Linked DNA regions of Homo sapiens: region 2 is linked to region 1. Evidence: promoter capture Hi-C in 16 types of primary human blood cells and fetal thymus (Javierre and others, 2016). All regions are on one chromosome and are shown on one strand. The core of a region is centred on a gene start or on the middle of the fragment in contact, and the rest is flanking DNA. Distances in the headings are between cores, read along the strand shown.

Region 1 (6,611 bases), core at 73-2,572:
GTGGATCCAGTCAGGATCTGACAGCCTGCTGATCAGTGGTAAGATTACATTGCATGTGATGAGTTCGACCACTACATGGCGTCCGGTACGAGTCTCCAAGTGGGGCTTGGGCACCAGCCCTTGAAGCAACAAATTCACAACGCCACGCGTATAGGTGACTTCAGCACTGGGGCTGTGCACAGCAGGATGTGGGGCAGTCGCCCGGCAGTAAGCCTCCCAGAGGTGGGAAGGCTCAACTGGACCATTCTTCCCTGCAGTGGCCTCCTTTGCCTGAATGTAGCTCTGCAGGTGACAACCGCAGAGAGTCAGAACACTCTGGGCAACAGCATGACTGTCCATCACGCTCATCCTTCTCCGAAGCTCCTGGACCAACCCTTTCATGGCTGCCTCCATTTCTTCCTCAAAGGCTGGCTCCTGGCTCACGGAACGGTACCAAGATAACACAAAATCTCGAATAATCATCTGGATGGTGCGGTTGATCTCCCGTTCCAGCTGCCTTTCTGCCTCAGGGCATGGAGGACAGGTGGCCAACGGGATGAAGCGTTCCAGATGCAGTCGACCTGAAGCCACTCCAGCGAGGCTGGAGCCCAGCCATCCTCCCAGCACCACTAGCAATGCCGACAGAAGGCACAGCAGCCACACGTTGACCAGAAGGTGTATGACCAGGAGCCAGCCAAGCAAGACCCCCACAGCCATCAGCTTCCGGCTACTCAACAGGTTATTGAGGTGACAGCTCGATCCAGCTGGAGTTTCCTGGAACGGTGGCACTGTTTCTGTCTTCATGGCTGAACGGACAAGGTGGCTTCCCCAGATGACAGCCCTCAAGATTTTACTTCAGAGTTAGGGAAGGGGGGCATGAACTGTGTCTCAGATATGGGGCGATCTGGGTGCTGTTCAGGGAACCGGGGCTCCAGGCCCTCAAAGTCCTACAGGCACTGCAAAGCGACAGCTGCAGCTCCGCGTCTCCCCATGGCTACCACTAACAGAGCCCTCCAACTCGCCCCTTCCAGCTGAGGTGTGGCTTTGGAGGAAAACTCTGTGGCCTTCACACTGCCCCAGGCGGAAGGCCTCTTCGGGGCCTCGGGGCGGGCGCTGCAAGGCCCTGGGGCCCACGGACACTTACACACGCAGCGGGCAGCGGCCGGCGAAGACTGGGTCACACGCCGCCGGGAACCGCGCGCCCACACTCAGCCCCGACCTGAAGTGGACTCATCGCGGTCCTCTCCGGGAGCCTCGGCCCTCTGCCGCCGTAAACCTGGGCGACTGCGCTCCGCAGCCGGGCCTGTGTGAAGGCTGACCGCCGGCCGGCCGCCGGCGACAGCTTCCGGGTCGACGTCGACGGGAGCGAGGCATGCTGGGAGAGCGTCCGCGCGCGCCCCGAGGAGCGGCGCTGCCCGGCGCCCTCTGCTGGCGAGGAGCCGCCCTGACGGCCCTGCGCGAGGTAGTCTCTGAGCCTGAGCGTGAGCCTGAGCGCGCACGGGGCGCGTGCTCGCCAAGAGCTGGCGCAGATTTCCGAAGTGCCACGAAACAGCCGCCGCAGCAATCACCGCTAAGACCCAGACTTCCAGGCGCTTTAAAACGCGTCCTAGTTCTGGTTATTAAATGAAGCCTGTCCTTTACTGCTTAGGCACGCTGTCAATAATCCGGTTTATTTTAATTTCATGGAGGCGAAGTTTCATTGGCCTGATGTGTCTTAACATTTATCCGGTTTCCCCTAGAGCCGGTACCCCGCGTCCCCAGCACAAAGACCCTCATTTGTTGTCAGGAATTGCAGAATATAAGGCATGAAACGATACAGAGATAGATTTATGTTGTACATTTCATATACTGTATCACAAAATCAAATTTGTGATTGAGGGTTATTTGCTGGTGGCATTACACAAACAATCAAATATTTTGAGCATCTGCTGTCTTCAATGTGAGAGGCAGCGTGGACGAATAGAAGCAGACCTTGTCCTCCAGGACCTCCTGCTAACTGGGGATGCCAGCGCTTTGAACGCGATTGGCTATCTAGTAATGCCAGTCAGCGTGCGATATAGTAAAATACAAAATCTTATAGGAATTCAGGGGAAGGAGAGATCACTGTGGGTTGCAATGGTTAAGGAGAAGCTCACAGAAAAGGTGCCTTTCTGCTGAGTCTTCAAGGATGAGGGTTTCTATTTCCCTCTATCTCTTCTCGCCTTATCCTCCCCAAAAACATAGAAAAGGAAAGCAGAGATAGAGGTGTCCTTTCAGATAATCCTGTAATATATTTGCTTTGGAATATGCTCTATGTTGGATTGTTTTTGGTTTTAGCAAATTAGACTTCACTTGTCTACACAGGAACCTATAGGAAGACAAAATACCGGAAGCACTGACCAGGTGTCAAAAGTGTTAGTGTCAGTTTTGCGTGAAGCCAGCTTCCATGTCCACCTTGGGCCCTAGGAGCTGTGCCCGCAGGGTGGGTCTCCTTTCCATTTAGGCATAGGATTCGCATCGTTTGCACAGAGCTGCTCATGGTTGCCCTTCGTCCACCTTCTCTGTGCTGTGAGCAGTCTTTCATCATCATGGACTACTCCCTAGATGTTTAAAGGAATCTTCAAACAAATCCCAACCCAAAACTCTGCCAACAAGAAGTGCGTTGCAGCTTCCTGTCTCGTCCATTGCTGCTGTTGGGGCAGAGACTTCCTTTGAATACGAAAGAAGCCATCATTTAGATGTGACCCGTAGTTTACGATTCATCACTTCTAAAGCAAATGGTTTGATTTAGGATCAGTGTCCACTAAGCAGACTGGGCACTCCCGTGAGATGGCAGAATGTGAATCCACGGTTTCACGGTCCATACCTTTTCACTGCTGCCTGCCTTCCCGCAGAAAAGGAACCCGAGAAGTGGGCTCTGCCCCTCTACCTTCCCAGACCATTCTAATGTCCTCAGGAGCACTTAGAAAATGGCAACAATGCTCTGGAGAAAAGTCCCTGCCACCTAGTTGGGAGCTAAAACAGAAATGTGAATGATGAAGGGACTACCGACGGTGCTGAAGACTTCCTGTGGCAGTTCAAAGAGAAAGTTTACTTGGCAGCATAATCTGGAGTGTTCAGGGCAGTAAGGAAGTGACCTTGCAAGTGGGCGCTATGCCACCTGACCAGATGGTCTGGAGCATCAAGGTAGCCAAGAGTGCCTTCCTGATTCTGAAGCGGGTTTGATGGACATGCCCGTGCACTTGTCATTTGGACGGGTGTGAGCTCCTGCCTGGGGGTCTGGGCAGACCCTGGTCTCCAAACAGATTAATCACTGGGAGGAGGTGAGAGTCAGGACTGATGTGCCCTGGTGTGTGTATGTGGGGTGGGGAGACTTGGCCACACCACTCACCATCTGGAGACGTCCTTCCTTCTTTCCTTTTCCCTATTTCTCAAAACATTAAAGGCATAGTGCTAGAGTGTTGGAGAAAACAAGACAAATAAGATACAATAATTCTCCTCAAGGGACTCTCAGTCTAGTTAAAGGAGAGACACATAAATATATAAACGTAATGAAACATGATCACGTGTGTAATGTGATGTGTTCTGATGTGTTGTAATAGAAGTGCATACAATAAAATCGAAACACAAAGCGGGTGGTCAGCTGTGGAGGGGGGTGGCTCATAGACAGTTTTCCCTTAAGTTGGGAAATGAAAAAGAATTGAGTGTATTTTAGGAAATGTTGGGTAGCGAGAGCAAGGGGCAAACAGAAGGAAGGTCTTTCAGGCAGAGGCCTGCTCATAAGAAACAGGCAGAGACCATGAGAGCAGGGGGGCCCGTGACATAGGCCCTGCCAGAGCCAGCCCGCACCCCACTTGAATTTTCTCTCAAAATAGAAGACCAGGAGGCTTCCTAAAGAGAAGCTCAGTGATGGGGCAAGTGAGTGAGAAGAGGCGATGGTATGGAATTATTGCTGTGGGATATAGAAAGGGAGCTATCGAAGGTCAGGTAAAAAGATGAAGTGGGGGCTGGGCGCAGTGGCTCATGCCTGTAATCCTAGCACTTTGGGAAGCTGAGGCAGGCAGATCACGAGATCAGGAGTTCAAGACCAGTATGGCTAACATAGTGAAACCCCGTCTTTACTAAAAATACAAAAAAATTAGCCAGGTGTGATGGTGTGCTCCTGTAATCCCAGCTACTCGGAGGGCTGAGGCAGGAGAATCGCGTGAATCCAGGAGGTGGAGATTGCAGTGATCCGAGATTGTGCCATTGCACTCCAGTAGCCCGGGCAACAGTGCGAGACTCCGTCTAAAAAAAAAAAAAAAGAGAGAAGGTGGGGCTGAGGGACCTTTTTGTAGTGGCACCAATACATATGGTTGAGTTATTTTCTCTGGAGGTGTTTAGTATTGTATTAGTCCATTTTCATGCTGCTGATAAAGACACACCGGAGCCTGGGCAATTTACAAAAGAAAGAGGCTTAATTGGACTTGCAGTTCCACATGGCTGGAGAAGACTCACAATTATGGCAGAAGGCAAGGAGGAGCAAGTCACATCTTCCGTGAATGGCAGCAGGCAAAAAGAGAAATGAACTTGTGTGGGAGAACTCTTCTTTATAAAACCATCAGTCTCATGAGACTTCTTCACTATCATGAGAACAATGGGAAAGACTTGCCCCCATGATTGAATTATCCCCTACCGGGTTCCTCCCATGACACATTGGAATTGTGGGAGTTACAATTCACGATGAGATTTGGGTGGAGACACAGAACCAAACCATATCATTCCACCCCTGGCCCCTCCCAAATTTCATATCCTCACATTTCAAAACCAATCATTCCTTCCCAACAGTCCCTCAAAGTCTTAACTCATTTCAGCATTATCTCAGAATTCCACAGTCCAAAGTCTCATCCAAGACAAGGCAAGTCCCTTCTGCCCATGAGCTTCCAAAATCGAAAGCAAGTTAGTTACTTCCTAGATACTATGGGGGTACAGGTATTGGGTAAATACAGCCATTTCAAATGGGATAAATGGCCAAAACAAAGGGGCTGCAGGCCCCATGAAAGTCCGAAATCCAGTGGGGCAGTCAAATCTTAACACTCCAAAATTGATTCAAAAAGTGGGTTCCCATGGTCTTGGGCAGCTCCACTCCTGTGGCTTTGCAGGGTAGAGCCTCTCTCCCAGCTACTTTCACGAGCTGGCATTGAGTGTCTGGCTTTTCAAGGTGAATGGTGCAAGCTGTTGGTCAATCTATCATTCTGCAGTCTGGAGGACAGTGGCCCTCCTCTCACAGATCCACTAGGTGGTGCCCAAGTAGGGACTCTGTGTGGGGGCTTTCACCCCACATTTCCCTTCCTCACTGACCAGCAGAGGTTCTTCATGAGGGCCAAGCTGCTGAAGCAAACTTCTGCCCGGGCATCTAGGCATTTCCATACATCCTTTGAAATCTAGATGGAGTTTTCCAAACCATAGTTCTTGACTTTTGTGCACCCACAGGCTCAACATCATGTGGAAGCTGCCAAGCCTTGAGGCTTGCACCCTCTGAAGCCACAGCCTAAACTCTACGTTGGGCCCTTTCAGCCATGGCTGGAGCAGCTGGGATGCAGGGCACCAAGTCCCTAGACTACACACAGCACCAGGACCCTGGACCCGGCCTATGAAACTCTATTTTCCTTCTAGACCTCTAGGCCTGTGATGGGATGGGCTGCCGCAAAGAAAGATCTCTGACATGCCCTGGAGACATTTTCCACATTGTCTTGGGGATTAACATTCAGCTGCTCGTTTCTTATGCAAATTTCTGCAGCGGGCTTGAATTTCTCCTCAGAAAATGGGATTTTCTTTTCTATTGCATTGTCAGGCTGCACATCTTCCAAACTTTTATGCTATGCTTCCCTTATAAAACTGAATGCTTTTAACAGCACCCAAATCACTTCTTGAACGCTTTGCTACTTAGAAATTTTTTTCTGCCGGATATCCTAAATCATCTCTCTCAAGTTCAAAGTTCCAAAATCTCTAGAACGGGGACAAAATGTCACCAGTCTCTTTACTAAAACTTAACAAGAGTCACCTTTGCTCCAGTTCCCAATAAGTTCCTCATCTCCATCTGAGACCACCTCAGTCTGGATTTCATTGTCCATATCATTGTCAGCATTTTGGCCAAAGCCTTTCTACAAGTCTCTAGGGAGTTCCAAACTTTTCCACATTTCCCTGCCTTCTTCTGAGCCCTCCAAACTGTTCCAGCCTCTGCCAGTTACCCAGTCCCAAAGCTGCTTCCACATTTTCAGGTATCTTTTCTGCAGCCCCACTCTACTGGTAACAATTTACTGTATTAGTTCCTTTTCATGCTGCTAATAAAGACATGCCTGAGACTGGGCAATTTACAGAAGAAAGAGGTTTAATTGGACTTACAGTTCCGTGTGGCTGGGGAAGCCTCACAATCATGGTGGAAGGCAAGGAAGAGCATGTCTTCCATGGATGGCAGCAGGCAAAAAGAGAAATGAACTTGTGGAGGGGAACTCTTCTTTATAAAACCATCAGATCTTGTGAGACTTATTCACTATCATGAGAACAGCATGGAAAAAAACTTACCTCCATGATTCAATTGCCTCCCACTGGGTCCTTCCCACAACATGGGGGAATTCAAGATGAGATTTGGGTGGGGAACCAGCCAAGCCATA
Region 2 (6,792 bases), core at 124-2,623, about 110 Mb before region 1:
TCAGTTTAATATTGACAGCATGGTTCATAAACATGGTGAGTAGTTTTTAGAATAAAGGCAATTTAATTTGTGAAATTTGGGCAGGCATGGCAGCTCACACCTGTAATCCCAGCACTTTGGGAGGCTGAGGTGGGTGGATCACTTTAGGTCGGGAGTTCAAGACCAGCCTGGCCAACATGCTGAAACCCCACCTGTACTAAAATACAAAAGTTATCTGGGTGTGGTGACGCACACCTGTAATAGCAGCTGCTCAGAAGACTGAGGCAGGTGAATTGCTTAAACCTGGGAGGCAGAGGTGGCAGTGAGCTGAGATGGTATCACTGCACTCCAGCCTGGGCAACAGAGTGAGACTCTTCTCAAAAAAAAAAAAAATCTGTGAAATATAAGTTCAGATTTTATAGTTTTTCAGACCCTTTTCTGTACGAGTTTAATATGGCGAATCACACAGCAACATCTTGTGGAAATGGAGTTTTTTTGACAAGCGGTCCTTGAGAAAAGATGAATAAGTCACTCTTCTAGACAAGATTCACTGTATTTAAGCTTATATTAGCTTTTCAACTAAAAACAAAAACAGACTTGGCATGTGATTACATTTTTACATTTTATGTGATTACATATTAGATTTAGGGAGAGCAAGTGTAGATGTAGGACTTGAAAAAGGACGCAGGTCATTTGAAAAAAGACAATCAGCTCAAAGCATGACATGAACTTCACAGCCTACGAGACTGAGTTTTATACAAAGTTCGGTAGAGACTGGAAAAAGAGTGATGAAGTTAAGATTAATATGCAAAATACTCAGGTGATGTTTCTATTGAAACTTTTATTTAAACACACTTGCCTTACAATTAAGGCCTTCCACTTTAAATGGATGTAGAAGAGCTATACTACAATAAAATTAACTAAATAGGCCAGGTGCTGTGGCTCACGCCTGTGATTCCAACACTTTGGGAGGCCAAGGCAGGTGGATCACAAGGTCAAGAGATTGAGACCATCCTGGCTAACCCAGTGAAAACCTTTGGGAGGCCAAGGCGGATGGATCACAAGGTCAGGAGATCGAGACCATCCTGGCTAACCCAGTGAAAACCCAACTCTACTAAAAATACAAAAAATTAGTCGGGCATGGTGGCATGTGCCTGTAGTCCCAGCTACTTGGGAGGCTGAGGCAGGAGAATTACTTGAACCCGGGAGGCGGAGGTTGCAGTGAGCTAAGATCATGCCACTGCACTACAGCCTGGGTGACAGACTGAGACGCCGTCTCAAAAAAAAAAAAATAATAGGTTTTTTGGTCCCTATATTTGTTGACAACTAAGAAGGGACATTACTGAAGAATAGCAAATACTAACAGGTGTTTCAGTGTCAGATAAATACGTGATATCACATGTTTATAAATCATAAATTCAACTGCAAGTACTTTCGTAAGGCATAAATGACAGCCTCATTTTTTAATGTTTTTTGTTTTTGTTTTTTTTTTGAGACGGAGTCTCGCTCTTGTTGCCCAGGCTGGAGTGCAATGGCACGATCTCGGCTCACTGCAACCTCCGCCTCCCGGGTTCAAGTGATTCTCCTGCCTCAGCCTCCCAAGTAGCTGGGATTATAGGCATGCGCCACCACACTGGCTAATTTTGTATTTTAGGAGAGACAGGGTTTCTCCATGTTGGTCAGGCTGGTCTGGAACTCCCGACCTCAGGTGATCCGCCTGCCTTGGCCTCCCAAAGTGCTGGGGTTACAGGCATGAGCCACTGTGCCCAGCCTTAATGTTTTTAATGTTGCATTTCTAAAGTATTAGAATCATACTTAAGATAGAATTTTGTTTTGTTTTTTTTTTACTTACCGATATAGGGGGTTTGTATACTATTAAAGTTTTCTCATAACAAGAGTTTTATGACAAATAATTGGTTGGTTGGATGTATTACTGCTTTCCTTTGTTTTAAATGCTGCTTCATTTCTGGAAAGATACGAGAACCAGATAACAAGCCTTATTGGGCTTGCATCATTTAACTTCATGTAAAAGCTAGTATACACCATGTCCTGGCAAAATTATAATTTGATACACACCATAAAAATTAGGGATTTAATACTTTCAGCTCTGATATCAGTTGCCAAATACTTGGTAAAATGTGGATCTTAATTTTCCAGATTTGTATTGTTCTGACAAAGGAGGAGTAGAATTTTAGAAATCAGTTTTCCATCTTTTTAGAAATACTAGAAAAGCTTTAATTTGTCATTTATGGCTGCTTCTCAAGATATTCAGAAGTATCATTGTATTACTACTTCTAATTCTTAATAAAATTCAAAATATAAGTAGTAATTTAGAGGTCAGAATTATTTTATTGTTTAATCAGAGAAGGCTTTATAGAATAGGTCAGTTAAACAAAACTCATTATGTTAACATAGGTGAATTATCTTTTTCCCCCTTTAGGACTTGAATTTTATGGATACATTAAGCTAATAAATTTTATTAGACTTAAGGTAAGTTGACAGCTTAATTTATAATTTCGTTTAGAAATCAAAGAAATGCTACAGTGACTGTCAGTGTACTGATTATTTAAAAGAATATGAGGAACTGCATTAAATTTGGTACTCATCATATTGGGGGAATCACGGACATTAGGAGGTAGCACAGCAGAAAGCACCATGTAAATGTCTACCATAACTAACAAATATTGTTTTCACTGCATCTAAGAGATGAATCGGTGTATGTGAAAAAGTAATTCAGTGTCAAATAAAGGGAAATACTGATGGACAGGATCTGTAAAATCAGAAATAATTTCTAATGTGATTTTAAGTATTTTGGTTGCTCTTTTTTATTCTGTTTTTTTTCAGATACTTTGTTTTTTTTTTTTTTTGTCCTGTTTAAATGAATGTTTAATGACATGACAACGCTTTCCCCAAATCCAAACAGTAAAAAAAACTCTGCGTTGAAACTGCTGGTTAAGCAGTCGTCCAGCAAGTTAATGAAATGACAGGCACGTAGACTTTTTGGAGACATACTGACTTTGTGTAATGCAAACATGATTTCCTTTTTGTTTAATTTCTGTAGTTTTTACTAAGGGGATTTTGTGATTATATGTAATGAAAAAAACATGAGATTAATTTTATATCCAGAATCCTACAGTTGAGTACATGAATTCCATATACAACCCAGTGCCTTGGGAGAAAGAAGAGTATTTGAAGCCAGTATTAGAAGATGACCTTTTACTTCAATTTGGTAAGATGAACATAAGTGTATCTCCTTTAATTAACATAAGGCCGTTTGTTAACGGCAAAATGGAGGTAGAGTGTTTTAGGAAAAGACATGCTTTTTAAAATTATCTAAATGCTTCATCAGGTAGTTAGTTTCAGTAGAAAAGTTAAGTTGCTTAAAAACTAATAGTCGGCCAGGTGTGGCGGCTCACGCCTGTAATCCCAACACTTTGGGAGGCTAAAAGGGCAGATCACGAGGTCAGGAGATCCAGACCATCATGGCTAACACAGTGAAACCCCATCTCTACTAAAAATACAAAAAATTAGCCGGGCATGGTGGCGGGCTTCTGTAGTCCCATCTACTCGGGAGGTTGAGGCAGGAGAATCACTTGAACCTGGTATACAGGTGACAGAGCAAGACTCTGTCTAAAAAAACTAAAAACTCTGTGATCAAAAGATTGTCTGGTTTTGCCTTTAATTGCTTCATGTATTTTGGAGCTCTTATGTGAGGTTTATACACATTTATAATTGTTATATTTTACTGAAAAATTGGTCAGCCTTTGCAGTAATTCTTCTCTGCCCGAAAGAAGTATCCAGGTGATTTGAACATCCTGAGACAGAAGGTAGATGTAGATGTTCATCTTTCTGAATATGGTTTAGGCCTTTGAATTAGACTGTTCTAGCAAATTGTAGTTAGGAATCTTAATATTTACTGAATCCTCTTTTTTTCAAATCTCTAAGTTTAATCTTTAATATATAATTATCTGCATATTCTTAACATTAAAAAGTTTTTATTATGACTAATTTTTATTGCAGCAGAAAGCAAAACAGAAACTGGCCAAACAGTTTGAAGAATTTTGAAATCAAAATACAAAATGAGGTTTGTAGTAGGAAGTAGAAAATACAGTATACCAGCCTTATATAGTTTGGAAATATTTTGTTGTGCTGATTAATTTTTGGTGAATTAGATAGTGAATGATGCAGTTTTTAAACCTCAGTGACTCAATATTCTGCCACAGTGATGAGAAGTTAGTGACACCCTGCACTGCTTTTATAACAAGAATTCAACTTAGGCTGTAGTCTCTTATAGTATAATGCATTCGTTTGGCTTAGCTATTTTGTCCTAATTCCAAGGACGTGTCTTCACAACTAAAAAATGAATAGGAATTTTTACGAAGTCACATTTCTTCCAGTGCTATCCTGAGGGGAAAATGTAATATTTGCACTGCTCACTGCCTTAAGTTGATCCGAAAGTTAGATCAGTAAATGGACACTGATTTTGTGAAATTCACTAACTACATATATTAACTTCTCTTTGTAGAGAAGTGAAATTAAAATTAAATACTAGGAATTAGGATATTTAATAATATCAGCAATAAGACTTTAGTGTATAGATTTCACTCCACCTTGCCCAGGATGAAAAATTATTGAATGTGTAGAATTCTTTACACGCTGTCCTTAGGAATGTTTTTTTTTTCCTCCAGTTTTATTCAGGTATAATTGATAAGTGAAAATTGTGTACATTTCAGGTATACAATGTGATGATTTGATATGCATATACATTGTGAAATGATTACCATAACCAAGCTGATTAACATCATCACCTCACATTCCATTTTTTTATTTTTGTGGTGAGAACAGTTAAGATCTATTGTCTGCAAATTTCAAGTATACAGTGCAGCATTTTTAACTATAGTCACTTTACAATAGACAGATGCCCAGAACTTACTCATCTTGTAGCTGAAAGTGTGTACCCTTTGACCAACATCTCCTCATTTCCACCACCATTCCACTCTCTGCTGCTGTGAGTTTTTTTTTAATTCCACACAAGAGTGAGATCACACAGTATTTGTCTGTTTGTGTCTGGCTTATTTTGCTTCACATAATGTCCTCCATGTTCATTCATATTTTCATATATGGCAGGATTTCCCTTAAGCAATATCTGAATTTAATACCTGCTACAATAAGGACATGGGCTAGGAGGTGGCTTTGTGTAATGGGAAGAACGTGGGCTGGGAAGGCAGGTTTGGGTTTAAATCTTAGTTCCTCCATAAACAGATATATAACTTTAGGATAGTCACTTAATTTCTCTGAAATTTATTTTTTCCTTGCCTAAAATAGGGATAAATACATCTTAACTGTGTTTTGAGAATAAAACAAGATGTAATGATGTACTGGAAAGATACCTGCTGATCAATAAATATTAGGTTTTTTTCTTTCTACTTTTTTCTTTCTTCCTGGATTTGGTTGAGTATAATTAATAATTAATATTTAAATATATGTTCAGTTTAGCCAACTAATGAAAAACTTAGACTAACAGCATGCTCTTTGAATTCAAATTAAAATAGTGTAGATGATAAATATTTATTATTATTATTATTACTTTTAAGACCGAGTCTCACTGTATTGCCCAGGTTGGAGTACAGTGGTGCGATCACAGCTCACTGCAACCTCCGCTTCCGAGGTTCAAGCAATTCTTCTGCCTCAGCCTCCCAGGTAGCTGGGACTAAAGGCTCGCATCACCAGACCTGGCTAACTTTTTGTATTTTTTTTTTTTTAGTAGAGATAAGGTTTCACCAAATTGGCCAGGCTGGTCTTGAACTGTTGGCCTCAAGTGATCTGCCTGCCTCGGCCTTCCAAAGTGCTGGGATTACAGGCAAGAGCCACTGTGCAAAGCCAAGATGATTAATATTCAATTAAAAGTACTTTCACTAATCTTTCTCAATTGGCCACATAGTAGAAACTTAGGGCGTATTTATTCCTAACATATTTATACTTGTTTTATTGTTATAAGATGGCCTGATAATAATGTCCATTTATTTCTTTAGATGTAGAAGATCTTTATGAACCGGTGTCAGTACCCTTCTCATACCCCAATGGACTCAGTGAAAATACATCTGTTGTTGAAAAATTGAAACATATGGAAGCCAGGGCACTGTCTGCTGAAGCCGCATTGGCCAGAGCACGTGAGGATCTGCAAAAAATGAAGTAATTTATCAATCTTGCAAAATTAATTGTTTTAGATCTCCAGAATAATACAACCTAATGGCAAAGTAGAATATAGTAGAACATTTCATATACTGGAAAGTACAATGTAGATATTTTATCTTCATACTGTTAAAGATATGTAGCATTTTTGTACACTATGGATATAGTTAATTAATATAAAATCTTATAGTTTTACCTATTCTGATATGTTCTGACAAATGTTGTCCTCATGAATGTTTTTGTTCTTTATTGCCTTCCTTTCAGTTTTCCTGTTTGCATTGATTTCTCCATTTTACTTTTTCTATCCTAGTTTTTTAAAGTGGAAGGATTAATCTTTTTGAGGTTTGGGGAAAATACAGGGTTGAAGTTTTTAGTTTTAAAGAATCAAAATGTAGGCCGGGTGCGGTGGCTCACACCTGTAATCTCAGCACTTTGGGAGGCCGAGGCAGGAGGATCATGAGGTCAGGAGTTTGAGACCAGCCTGGCCAACATGGTGAAACCCTGTCTCTACTAAAAATACAAAAATTAGCCGGGTTGTGGTGGTGCACGCCTGTAATCCCAGCTACCTGGGAGGCTGAGACAGGAGAATTGCTTGAATCCGGGAAGGGGAGGTTGCAGTGA

What was found. Contacts are between HindIII fragments. The CHiCAGO score rates a contact against its expected background, and 5 or more counts as called.
Region 2: a fragment that was not itself captured here is called in contact with the fragment with the promoter of SNX19 in region 1 in 3 of 17 cell types (total B cells, non-activated CD4 T cells and total CD4 T cells); the score reaches 11.7 in total B cells.

Annotation. Positions count from the first base shown.
Region 1 is chr11:130,915,157-130,921,767 of GRCh38, forward strand. SNX19 (sorting nexin 19) reads right to left here and starts at 1,323. Exons shown (of 11, transcript NM_014758.3): 1 at 1-1,323. The coding sequence starts at 783. RefSeq lists an enhancer at 1,066-1,115 and a silencer at 1,236-1,515. The HindIII fragment of the contact is 12,734 bases long and covers 1-6,611 here.
Region 2 is chr11:20,389,792-20,396,583 of GRCh38, forward strand. It overlaps PRMT3 (protein arginine methyltransferase 3), which reads left to right. Exons shown (of 16, transcript NM_005788.4): 3 at 1-35; 4 at 2,420-2,469; 5 at 3,106-3,208; 6 at 6,012-6,171. Among named protein-coding and RNA genes, the nearest start is that of PRMT3, 5.5 kb to the left of the region's middle. The HindIII fragment of the contact is 1,671 bases long and covers 539-2,209 here.